Linked DNA regions of Homo sapiens: region 2 is linked to region 1. Evidence: promoter capture Hi-C in 16 types of primary human blood cells and fetal thymus (Javierre and others, 2016). All regions are on one chromosome and are shown on one strand. The core of a region is centred on a gene start or on the middle of the fragment in contact, and the rest is flanking DNA. Distances in the headings are between cores, read along the strand shown.

Region 1 (7,274 bases), core at 3,234-5,733:
GAGGTGGAGGTTGCAGTGAGCTGAGATCGTGCCACTGCACTCCAGCCTGGGTGACAGAGCGAGACTAGGTCTTAAAAAAAAAAAAAATTGAGGCAATAATTAATAGCTTACCAACCAAAAAAAGTCCAGGACCAGATGGATTCACAGCCGAATTCTACCACAGGTACAAGGAGGAGCTGGTACCATTCCTTCTGAAACTATTCCAATCAACAGAAAAAGAGGGAATCTTCCCTAACTCATTTTATGAGGCCACCATCATCCTGATACCAAAGCCTGGCAGAGACATAACAAAAAAAGAGAATTTTAGACCAATATCCTTGATGAACATTGATGCAAAAATCCTCAATAAAATACTGGCAAACCGAATCCAGCAGCACATCAAAAAGCTTATCTACCATGATCAAGTAGGCTTCATCCCTGGGATGCAAGGCTGGTTCAACATATGAAAATCAATAAACACAATCCAGCACATCAACAGAACCAAAGTCAAAAACCACATGATTATCTCAATAGATGCAGAAAAGGCCTTTGACAAAATTCAACAACCCTTCATGCTAAAAACTCTCAATAAATTAGGTATTGATTGGACGTATCTCAAAATAATAAGAGCTATCTATGACAAACCCACAGCCAATATCATACTGAATGGACAAAAACTGGAAGCATTCCCTTTGAAAACTGGCACAAGACAGGGATGCCCTCTCTCACCACTCCTATTCAACATGGTGTTGGAAGTTCTGACCAGGGCAATCAGGCAGGAGAAGGAAATAAAGGGTATTCAATTAGGAAAAGAGGAAGTCAAATTGTCCCTGTTTGCAGATGACATGATTGTATGTCTAGAAAACCCCATCATCTCAGCCCAAAATCTCCTTAAGCTGATAAGCAACTTCAGCAAAGTCTCAGGATACAAAATCAATGTGCAAAAATCACAAGCATTCTTATACACCAATAACAGACAAACAGAGAGCCAAATCATGAGTGAACTCCCATTCACAATTGCTTCAAAGAGAATAAAATACCTAGGAATCCAACTTACAAGGGACCTGAAGGACCTCTTCAAGGAGAACTACAAACCACTGCTCAATGAAATAAAAGAGGATACAAAGAAATGGAAGAACATTCCATGCTCATGGGTAGGAAGAATCAATATCGTGAAAATGGCCATATTGCCCAACGTAATTTATAGATTCAATGCCATCCCCATCAAGCTACCAACGACTTTCTTCACAGAATTGGAAAAAACTACTTTAAAGTTCATGTGGAACCAAAAAAGAGCCCGCATTGCCAAGTCAATCCTAAGCCAAAAGAACAAAGCTGGAGGCATCATGCTACCTGACTTCAAACTATACTACAAGGCTACAGTAACCAAAACAGCATGGTACTGGTACCAAAGCAGAGATATAGACCAATGGAACTGAACAGAGCCCTCAGAAATAATGCCGCATATCTACAACTATCTGATCTTTGACAAACCTGAGAAAAACAAGCAATGGGGAAAGGATTCCCTATTTAATAAATGGTGCCAGGAAAACTGGCTAGCCATATGTAGAAAGCTGAAACTGGATCCCTTCCTTACACCTTATACAAAAATTAATTCAAGATGGATTAAAGACTTATGTGTTAGACCTAAAACCATAAAAACCCTAGAAGAAAACCTAGGCAATAACATTCAAGACATAGGTGTGGGCAAGGACTTCATGTCTAAAACACCAAAAGCAATGGCAACAAAAGCCAAAATTGACAAATGGGATCTAATTAAACTAAAGAGCTTCTGCACAGCAAAAGAAACTACCATCACAGTGAACAGGCAACCTACAGAATGGGAGAAAATTTTTGCAACCTACCCATCTGACAAAGGGCTAATATCCAGAATCTAAATGAACTCAAACAAATTTACAAGAAAAAAACAAATAACCCCATAAAAAGTGGGCAAAGGATATGAACAGACACTTCTCGAAAGAAGACATTTATGCAGCCAAAAAGCACATGAAAAAATGCTCATCGTCATTGGCCATCAGAGAAACGCAAATCAAAACCACTATGAGATACCATCTCACACCAGTTAGAATGGCAATCATTAAAAAGTCAGGAAACAACAGGTGCTGGAGAGGATGTGGAGAAATAGGAACACTTTTACACTGTTGGTGGGACTGTAAACTAGTTTAACCATTGTGGAAGTCAGTGTGGCGATTCCTCAGGGATCTAGAACTAGAAATACCATTTGACCCAGCCATCCCATTACTGGGTATATACCCAAAGGACTATAAATTATGCTGCTATAGAGACACATGCACTGGTACGTTTATTGCGGCACTATTCACAATAGTAAAGACTTGGAACCAACCCAAATGTCCAACAATGATAGACTGGATTAAGAAAATGTGGCACATATACACCATGGAATACTATGCAGCCATAAAAATTGATGAGTTCATGTCCTTTGTAGGGACATGGATGAAGCTGGAAACCATCATTCTCAGCAAACTATCACAAGGACGAAGAAACAAACACCGCATGTTCTCACTCATAGGTGGGAATTGAACAATGAGATCACATGGACACAGGAAGGGGAACATCACACTCTGGGGACTGTTGTGGGGTGGGGTGAGGGGGGAGAGATAGCATTAGGAGATATGCCTAATGCTAAATAACGAGTTCATGGGTGCAGCACACCAGCATGGCACATGTATACATATGTAACAAACCTGCACGTTGTGAACATGTACCCTAAAACTTAAAGTATAATAATAATAAAATTTAAAAAAAGAAATAAAAGAAATTATAAAACAAACAAAAAATCTGAGTGTATTTGTCCCCATTTCCAAGCTAACAGGATTGGTGAAAATAAAATGGACTAAAGTAGGCTATCCTATAGGGAACTAAATTGCAAATAAATCCAGTATTGAGATGTTTGCCTTGATTTTGCCTATTTCTATCCATAGCTCAGTTTGAAACGACCATATTCGTGAAATGCCAGAGTTTGTTTAGATTACTGAAGGTATATTATTTGAGACCTCAAATCCAAATGACTTCCAAATTAGGATACCCAGAATATTTTTGGTCCTGACTGTTGCAGTATTATGCTCACCTTAATTTAATCTTCATAATTGAAAATAAGCAGAATCCACAATAAGTTTTTTTTTTTTTTTTGGAGACAGAGACTCACCCTGTTGCCCAGGTTGGAGCGCAGTGGCGTGATCTTAGCTCACTGCGACCTCCGCCTCCTGGGTTCCAGCAATTATCCTGTCTCAGCCTCCCGAGTAGCTGGGATTACAGGCGTATGACACCATGCTCAGCTAATTTTTGTAGTTTTAGCAGAGACGGGGTTTCACCATATTGGCCAGGCTGGTCTTGAACTCTTGAACTCAGGTAATACACCTGCCTTGGCCTCCCAAAGTGCTGGGATTACAGGCGTGAGCCACTGTGCCTGGCCAGGATTGGATATTTTAAAGGTTGGATCACTTGAAAATGGGGGAACAATGATCTGTGTGAGATCTATTTGGTTTCTATTATTAAACTTCTTGAAACTCAGAGCCAGGTGCAGTAGTGGTGAGTACCTGTAGTTCCAGCTACTCAGGAGGCTCAAGTGGGAGGATCACTTGAGCCCAGGAGTTCAACTCCAGCCTGGGCAACATAACAAGACTCCATTAAAAGAAAAAAAAAAAAAAAACTTTTTGAAACTCAGCTGCTACACATTGACTTTCCTCATTGTATATGTGCACCAGGTAGCTAAGGATACTTCAGGTCTTATATTTGGTTTTTCATAGGCAATCATGCATTCCCAAAAAAAAAGCGTTTTTTTCTAGAACTGGTATCGATAATTGTATCATTCTCATAAAATATTTTATTTATCCCAACTGATTTGCCTGTGATCACCCAGACTCACTTATCCAGAGACACACAAATGGGCAGGCAGGTAGACAAACGCTACACCTGCCTGCCCTTTAGGAGCTAACAATGTGATTACCTCTCCTCTCCACGCGCAACCCCTTCCGCCCTCAACACACACATTCATATCTTCCTTATTCTATTAATGAACATTTCCTCGGTGCTCACACAGCTCGTGCTAGGTTGCTCAGTGGTGTCATTTACAATATACTGAAAAATGAAAATGATATCCTCAGCGGGGCGTAATGTAGGGCTGAAAGGGAAAACACATTCCTGGCCCGGAATTTCTTAAACATTTAGAGCTGGTGAAATGGTTGTGTAGAGGTTGGGGAATTTCCCCAGCCTTCCCCGCTTAACCGAGTCTGATGCTGAGCTGAGCCAGGGCAGCTGAGATGCGCAGGGCTTGGGATTTACCTCTTCAGCCACTGGGAGGCCCTCTGCGTTCCCCTTTCCCCGGTGCCTGGCTGCGATTACTCACTCGCGCAGTGGCACCAGCCTTCCACCAGGGAGCCTCGAACGAGCTCTCCCGCCCTCTCCCCGCCCCCCCACCCCCATCTGCAGCTTGCTGGCTCTCTCTTTCTCCTTCTCTGTCTCACTCTCTCTCTTTCTCTCCCTCTCCTATCGGAGCACAATGAAAGCCTGTGTATCGCCGTGACTCCGGGCGCGAGCCAGTGTCAGCAAAGCGGCTAACAACAGACGAGAAAGAGAAAGGAAAATACAAGCTACTTTTTTTTTCCATCTATAAAGCGGAGCAAATACAGGAGATAGAACCAGATTGCTTATTGCGAGTCCAGACCCTCAGATCCACTGGCCGGGGATGGAATGTACAAAAGTGGACAGAAAAGTGGCTGGACATGACTCGGTGCAATTTGCTGGAAGTTTGTAAGTTTGACCATCGTTTGTAAATTACTCTCGGAAGAGTTTGTCTCTCTTGATACTGTATTAGAATAGAGCCGGGGGTGAGGAATAGAAACGTAAGCGGGAAAGAAAAAAATGTGTTGAAGGATCTCTCTCAGTGGCTAGCGACTTAAGATTGCTTTTCATTTAAGGCTAGGAAACCTTAGAGGGAGTGAGGATTTTACCGGTGATTGGATTAGCTGAAGAAAAAAGCATGGTCCAAAAGTCCAATTACTGACATTGTTAACAGTTGAAAAGCTGTCTCCCTCTTTTGGGAGAAGACAACATCCTACAGTACCCCAAAGAGGAGAAAACACCGGAGCGAAAGGAAAGGGAGGAAAAATTAAAAGCCAAAAGACAGTCTCCCTTGATTTTTGCACATTTTGAACAGTGACTTAAACATCTTCTGAAACAGCACTGTTTTGTTTTGTTTTGGTTTTTTATTTAACCTGAGGAAAAGTCAAGGCTGCTGGTTACATAGACATGGTAGAAATGTGTTTCTCTGCAGAAACATCCCCATAAAGAATTGTCGGAAACAACTAGGTGAGGGGGAGTCCTCTCTATTAATACCTCTCTCAATACCTTTTGCTGTGTGTTTCTGTCTCTTGCTGGACAATCCCTGAATTCTTGATCTAACCCCCAGATCGTGTGTTTACAAAGTACCTAGTGGCTCTTGTCAGCTTGGTGGAGGAAAAAAAATCCACCAACTCTGTCCAACTTCTCCAGAGCTGTCAAATGCAATTAGAGTAAGTTAATCAGGGTTTGTTTCCAACTTATCCTCCCCCCAGTTGGTTTCTATTCTTTCTCCCCACCCTCTTTTTACTAACTCCCCTCCCCCACAACTTCTCCACGGCTCCCCCACAACCTCTGAAGACCTCTATTCATGTGGCCCTGAACACTGAGCTCACATTGTCAAAAACAGACTTGCCTGCAATAGCCAGCAGTAGCCTCTTTCCACCTCACCATCCCAGAGGCAGCAATCATTGTGTCCGGTAAGATGGGGGACACAGCGCCCCCGCAGGCCCCCGCAGGAGGGCTAGGGGGGGCCTCTGGGGCGGGGCTCCTTGGAGGGGGCTCAGTCACCCCGAGAGTGCACAGTGCTATCGTGGAGCGCCTCCGGGCTCGGATCGCTGTCTGCCGCCAACACCACCTGAGCTGTGAAGGACGATATGAACGAGGTAGGGCCGAGAGCTCAGACCGGGAAAGAGAAAGCACCTTGCAGCTCCTGAGCCTTGTACAGCATGGCCAGGGGGCAAGGAAAGCTGGCAAACACACCAAGGCCACCGCCACTGCTGCCACCACTACAGCCCCTCCACCGCCCCCTGCTGCCCCTCCTGCGGCCTCCCAAGCAGCAGCAACAGCAGCCCCACCGCCCCCACCAGACTATCACCATCACCACCAGCAGCACCTGCTGAACAGTAGCAATAATGGTGGCAGTGGTGGGATAAACGGAGAGCAGCAGCCGCCCGCTTCAACCCCAGGGGACCAGAGGAACTCAGCCCTGATTGCGGTAAGCACCTGGCTTTCTCATGGTTCTGGCTGTGGTCCTGTGACCTTTTGTGAGGGTAGAGTTTGCTTTGGCCTAAGGTAGAGTGGATGGCAATGAAAAAGGCCAAGATGTCACCTGACTACCTTAAAGGCCATTGGGTGTGTTCGGGTGGTTTCATGCGCCTACTCATCATGTTCTGTTGGTGCTCACTCCTGGGTTTTCCTTCGCTTATAGGATATTCCTTAACTGATAAGAAGCCTGAGTTTTCCAGAGGCTCTCTGGGGTCCACATCTTATAAAAGAAGAGGCTACCAGCTGGCAAGATCTGAGCCACTGAGGAAGGTTCTATCTCATGGATCCTCCAGCTTTGGCCAGCCAGCTCTGATTAGGCCCCCAAGCCATTTTTCAGCCCCAAAGCATTTATCAGCCCAGCTGGCCTTTATTAAAGCCTTTTTCTCCTTGCCCCATTTCCCCTCTCCCTTTTGAAGTGACCCCCTTCTTCTTCGCTTAAGAGAACATAAATGGTAAGCTGTAACAAATAGCAAATTCCCCGAATGTCCCCTCAGTCAAAAACAAAATTTGGGGAAAATATCCCAAAGAGAGACTAGGGAGGCACTGTTTCTTAAGAGGCCTACTCTCTGATTCCCTCTAGACTCTCTCACTCCTGAGCCACATCTCGATTATTTTCCCAAGCACTCCAGTCCAATCCAGTAATGCTCCCTTAGAGCATTCGTTAAGCAGACAGGCACGAAGCAGCTATTTACACAGATCATCATCCTAGGAAATACCTTGTCTTCAGCCACTCCTGGTGATAGGATATCAAACCCAAAAGTTCTGATTAAGTTTCTGGCTGGAAGTTCTTCCCCAGAGGCACAGACACACACCATCCCAGAGGAGTATCCCTTGGATCATTGATTCTCAGTGCCAGTCCTGGTCAGGTGACTGCCTGCTGTTTGCAGGCTTCCCCCCAAAGCTGCTGGACCAGTGGCCTCTGGTGGAAG
Region 2 (6,221 bases), core at 1-2,500, 1.2 Mb after region 1:
AAAAAAAAAGCTTTCTTGACTAACAGTAATTCTAGAAGATAGACCAGATAACTGAAAACAAATGCTACTGGCAAATAAGAGGATTTACTTTCTAAAATTTTCACTTTCAGAGATGAGAGTTTAAAAGGAAGAGAAATTTTATGCCCAAAGAATAAAATCTCAATTCCCTAAGGAAAGCTCCATTCAATCACCATGAATCACCAGTAACGGAGCTAAAAGAAATCTGAAGCTGGCATTTACATACAGAATGGTATGTTAGTAGTGAAACCATAAACCATCCAAAGAACTGGATTAAAAATAAAATAACAAGTCTAGTCAGCCAGTTTGGATTCTGGAGAGAAAAAACTAACATTTTAGTTAGAAAATAGTGTGATAGAGAATAAAGAGAGTTAAGAGCTTTGGATTTGGGCAGTCATAAACTCCTGTCCAGGTTTTGCCATCTAGAAGCTGTTTGACCTTGGATAAGTTACTTAACTACTCCGAACCTCAGTTTCCTAAACTATAAAACACAAGTCATAATACCTAGAGTTGTTATAGAGATGAGATGAGTTAGAATGTGAAGACCTTTGACATGGTAAGGGATCAATAAATGATAGTTCCTTGCCTAGATTGTCCAGATATAAGTCTAAACTGAAAGAATAGTATAGGGAATTGTCACCACTGGACTGCTTCAGGACAGATGTCCCTGAAATATTCTGCCAACGCAGGTAAATACCTTAACTTGATCCTGAGAATGGCCTGCAAAACAAAAGGAAACACTAAATCCAAAGATGAAGAAAAAGCCAGAAGGGAAAAATTCAACAAAGGTTGGAACCATCCCCTGGGTCAGGCACTTCCCAGTCTTATCCAGTCTCAGCACAATAGACTGGAATGCCATTGCTCACTGTTTTCTGACAACACACTTCTTGGTTTTCCAGGACAGAGAGGGTGGAGATGTCTTTGGTACCTGTTTGGTTTGTTTTTGCTTTTAATCACTCAAATCCACCCTCCATCCATTCATTCAATCTTCCACACATTTCATCTCTCATCATGCATTTATGAAGCAGCTACTGTATGAATGTGGGACATACACCAAGCATTTGAGAAGATACATGGATAGATATTTTACTTTTTAGGAGAGATTTGCAGAATTGTAGATGTCACCTATCTAATCCAACATTCCATTTGTGTGTGTGTGTGTGTGTGTGTGTGTGCGTGCACACGCCTAGCACCTACTGAAGTAACACCTTATATACATATTAATATTTACTAAGAGTTTACCATATTCCAGGTACCATGCCACATGCTCTCATGTGTTATCTTGTTTATTTGTCACAACCTCTCTATAAACACTTTTACAACCTTTAATGAACAGATCCAAAAAATGGGGCTGGAAGTCACATAGCTTGTAAATGGAAGAGCAGGGATCTGAATTAAGTCTCTTAATTAAGGAGTAAGAATCAGGATTGTCCTGTTCACTGCATTCCTTACACAGAGATTTAAGTGTATGATGCTCTATATATCTGTTCTCTGACACAATGAAAAGAAGGCTGAGGTTGGAACAAATTGAACAGTATTTCTGTTTCAGGTTGTATAAGCCATGGATGGAAATTAAAAATCAAGGACTTAATCAAGGTTCTAACTTGAAACAACCATTTGCATTTACTAAGATCTGAAGTAAGACCTCACTGTGCCCTCCAGGAAAATGTTTTTGCAGTTAACCAGAATATCCCCTTCATTCCAGAGTAAAGTGACACTTGAGCAACCTTTATGCAGCCAAGTAAGTGCTCCCACTTGTCCTATGACTGTCAGAAAATAGAAGTGGAGTAGAAATTAGAATTCTCACATAAAAGATGAAAATTAGAGTCCTAAGACCATTAGCGCAGTGGATCCATTGTGAGATCAAAGAATCTCCACAGTGTATCAGAAGAGTAATCAGTAATGAGTTCAAAAATAAGCTGTGTGACCCTAAAACACCTCAGTTAACCTCCCTTAGCCAGTTTCCTCCTTTCTACAATGAAGATAATATCTACCTCACAGTATTTTTTAAGATTGAACAAATATACACTATTGTTACTGAATATATAAATTATATATTATATAATTAATATGTATAATATATTAATTATATAATTTATATATTCAGTTCCTTCCATGTTTATAAAATGATAGAGCTTTATATGTTGGCTTCTGGCATAAATCAGCAATGCACTTTAGAAAGGTATCATTGGCATCTTATCTAAAAATTCTTCCATTAAGTGGAAAGGAGTCAACAAACTAAAAGGTTTGAGGCTTCCTGCACTAAACCAGAATCCAGTTCTCAGGTTTCTGGAGTCTTGACTAGAACTCCTCCAAACCATCTCCTGTAGGCAGAGCAGAGATCAAAATCATTTGGGATAGTTTCAAAGGCCAAAGCTAAGACTGATGGAGTGGCTGCAGAGCAGGGTTCCAGCTCTGCATAGGGAGCATGTTTGTAACAGTTGCTGCTGGCCAGCCCTGGTGCAAGCTTCTGAAACAGGAAGCGCCCCACTGAGAAAACTGAAGCAGAACATCTCACCTGCTCCTGCCTGATTGATCCTCCCAACATCAAATTATTTTATTCAACACTTATCGCGTGCTTTCTATAAGCTGGGCACTAGGAAAAGAATGAGTAAGATGCAATCATCATTCCTCAAGGGCTCAAGTTGGGGAGACAGATACATAAGCAGATAATTACAAAACAACATGGTAAGTATGAAAATAGAAAAACTATAAGAGCACTGAAGGGGTGAACCTAACTTGGGAGGTGGATACAGTTCAGGTGGGGAATTCTTTCTGGAGGAGGTGACACCTCAGCAGAGTCTTAAAGGATGGAGTAAGGGCAGGAAGTGAAGGATAAGATGGGGTCTGTGTAGAAAGGGAATTTGGGCAAAGGGAATCAGCATGAGCTAAGAAACAGACATCACAAACAGTCTGGTTTATGAGAGGAACTCCAGGCAGCTGGATAATGCTAGAACATAAAATATGAGGGTGGAGCATGGTGAGAAACTAGATTGGAGCTGGAGACAGGAGCTAGGCTATGGAGAGCCTGTAAACTGCATTCTGCAGTGTGAACTTTGTCCTGTAGGGGCTGGGCAGGCAACACTTTACAGATTTTCAGCACAAGAGTGACTAAGTTTCTGTGATCTTTGACTTAGGAGATTCTTTTCAAAGGGAAACTGCAGTGTGGACTCAAAAGCTGCCGAACTGGGCTTTGGGAATTCAGTGTCACTGCTGCCCTGCCTGACTCATCACTGGAGGCAAGCACTGAGTTCCTTTGGTCTCCTGCCTCTTCCTCCCCTGTGTGCGGGTCCTCTTGGTAACACTGACCTCATAAAAAGGTGATGTGGGTACAAGGAGACTCAGCATTATAAAATGCTTGGAAGCCGCCAAGGGTACACATTGAGCCCTGAGCATCTTTCTGCAGTGGGGATCTTGGCTGGGAGGCAGGGCCTCAGGGAGCAGGCAACAGTGGGGGCAGGTTTGCTGCAGTGCACTCCAGGCCCAGCTGCACCTCACACCTCCTCCTCCCTCCCTCTCTCCCAATACTCTCTGGATCCTGGCTGACTTGACTTGAGGTCGAGCGGGTGGATGTGGGAGGCCAGCCACCTTGCAGGGAAAAGCATCCTGCAGTGCTCAGCCACAGTGACCATTCTGACCTCTCAGCACAGCAGGAACTCAGGCCCCTTGTACTCTTCAGAACCGCTGTACATCTTACCTCTCAAGCTGCCATTTGTAACTATTTCCACCCTCCCTTCCCATCTTCTTTAATCTCCACAGTCCCCTTCCTCATTATCTCACCCAGGGTCTCCATGTTACCTGGTTCCCTGTACTTCTTTCTGTCAAACTATGCTCCTTTACGACTCACTCCTTCCCTAGCTGCATAAATGGCTCTGCCTCCCTAAGCCTTCCTTGGTGGCTCCTCCCCACCTGATCCCTCCCTTCCATGATTCCTTTTTATTCTGAGCAATTGAGTGCATTCATCTATTTGTATTAGTTTACCTGTTCCAACTTCTTCACGCACAAATCCCTGAATCTGCCATGCCTTTCTCACTCATGATGTTTGTTCCCTCTGCTTGAAATGTCCTCCTCCTTGCCTCCCTTCTAAACTCTGCCTTATCTTTCCACACACAGCAGAAATGTCATCCTGACCCTAAGGCTTGCTTCCATCACCTCAAAGACAGATTAAATCTAATAGGACTTTGTTCACCTTTATTAAATTATGGTTTTTTGCTTAGGTCATAGCAACAGCTAGTACTTAGTACTCATGTGTCACACACCTGAGAACTTTATATATGGTAACTCATTAAATCTTCACACCACCCTATGCTATTATCTCCAATTTAACCTGCCCAAGTTCATAGCTAGTCAGTGGAGCAACTAGGATATGAACCCACATAGCATGGCTCTAATCAGATACTACACCACCTCTCCACCCAGCAAACTCCACCTGCAGATCAGGTAGCCTTTGTTCCAGAACTGCACTCAGATCTCTTGGTCCCAAATATCTGGCACACAGCAGGAGTCACTAAATGTGTTCTGAATTTAACTGAAATTTGTTTAGCATCCATTCCCATGATTTCCTCAGACGTATGTTCTGTCTCCCCAAGCTGTCCATGAGATCAAGGGGAAAGAACTAGCTCATTTGTTTTCTTCGCAGGCACACAATCACAATGCAAGATGAGAGGTGGGGAACACCCTGTGAGCTCTAGGGGTGCAGCTGGTGGAAAACTAATTTTGGATTTAAATGTGTCTTGTGTGTGCAACTGACAACGTCTTTTTCACATGCCTGATCTCGACAAGTGTTATCAACAGTTGAGGTAGGTGGAAGGATGTGAGGAAGATAAGAAAACTAGGTGCAGATTGTTTGAGACCTGGCCAAGACCTCAGAGCTAGAAATATCTGAATGAGATTACAACCCACAGGCTCTGAATAAAGCACCTGAAAGCCAGCCTCCTGTCCACTGGTGTGGTCCTGGGCAGCTGTGGCCGTCAGGAAAGGGAGAGCGTTGGGTCAGTTCTTCCCCCAGCAGCCTGGGCAGGGGTGGGAGGCTGGTGAGAGGGCAAAGGGGAGTCTGGCAGGGTGTTCTAGAGAGGAGGCCAACTGAGGAGAGGTATTAAGAGCAGGCCAGCAGGTTCGGAAGACTCTGAGGGCTTCTCAAGTGTTTGGTCACCTTTACCAGACGGGACAGAACACCATGAGAGGTGACACGATTTCCTAGTGGTATGATAATATAGATATGAGGAGTCAGGAAAAACTGGCTTATCTTTCCATCAGTTGGAGGTAGTCAATGTTTCCCTATCATTTTTAACTACCCCATTGCGTTTCTAAAAATCTGTATCTTTATTTCATTGTTCTAATTCAACACAACCGCAGATCGAATTTACTCAACGCCGTGGTAGAGGAAGGATTTTCAGGCTAGGATGAGCTCTGCAGAAGAGAAGCTTTACTTAGTAGAAAAGGCAGTGAATTTCTAGACAGAGACCTGCCCCATCTTACTAACTGGGTAGTCTTCCATATGTCTCTTCACCCCCTGGGTTTATCTCCTCTTCTGTAAAATGGGGATGAAAATGCCCACCTACCCACCTCCAAATGAGTGCTATGGCAATAAGTTGCACGAAGGCCTGTGAGCGCCCAGCCTAGGCTTTCTGCGGATCTGAACGGTCTCCAGGGTCTCTGTATCAAGCTCTTCACCATTCAGGAATGAAACACTGCGGATGTCTGCTCAGAAATGCAGGGAGAACCTCCTCCCACAGGGGACCTCCCGCCCTGCAGCTCATGAAGTGAAGGCTCGCAGATCGCCAGGCTCTTATTGTAGCTCGACAGGGGCGAGGCAGGCTAACTCCGGGGACGCAACAGGGTGGACCTGGAACCCGGGTTTCTTGGCCCAAGGCACCGAAGGCGTAGGGATTGCTGTTCCCGGCCCGCCCCTCGCGGTAGCTGCAACTGGGGGCATGTCCAGCGGCACGGTCTCCGGCGCCCGCAGCCCGGCTCGGGAACCACTTCGCTTACCTGCGGCTCCACCAGCCATCGCTGCTCGGCGCCGCCGGGCGCAGGGCGCGGGGCGCGGAACGCGGAGTACACGGGGATGCGGTCCCGGGTGCTGTAGAGGGTGGCGAAGCGCTCAGCACCCTCCGCGCGCTGACAGATCTTCACGTGGGAATCGGCCGCCAGCCCCGCAGGCGGGGTCCCGGCGTAGAAGAACTTGTCACATTCGCCAAAGC

The links. Contacts are between HindIII fragments. The CHiCAGO score rates a contact against its expected background, and 5 or more counts as called.
Region 2: a contact is called between a fragment that was not itself captured here and the fragment with the promoter of MAML2 in region 1, in 1 of 17 cell types (total B cells). The highest score is 7.0, in total B cells.

Annotation. Positions count from the first base shown.
Region 1 is chr11:96,340,404-96,347,677 of GRCh38, reverse strand. It overlaps MAML2 (mastermind like transcriptional coactivator 2), which reads left to right and starts at 4,483. Exons shown (of 5, transcript NM_032427.4): 1 at 4,483-6,295. The coding sequence starts at 5,783. It overlaps MIR1260B (microRNA 1260b), which reads right to left and starts at 6,240; the gene lies at 6,152-6,240. RefSeq lists silencers at 4,300-4,489, 5,607-5,866. The HindIII fragment of the contact is 8,013 bases long and covers 389-7,274 here.
Region 2 is chr11:95,090,016-95,096,236 of GRCh38, reverse strand. ENDOD1 (endonuclease domain containing 1) reads right to left here. Exons shown (of 2, transcript NM_015036.3): 1 at 6,010-6,221. Among named protein-coding and RNA genes, the nearest start is that of ENDOD1, 3.3 kb to the right of the region's middle. RefSeq lists silencers at 3,018-3,312, 6,140-6,221 and an enhancer at 3,018-3,312. The HindIII fragment of the contact is 2,475 bases long and covers 13-2,487 here.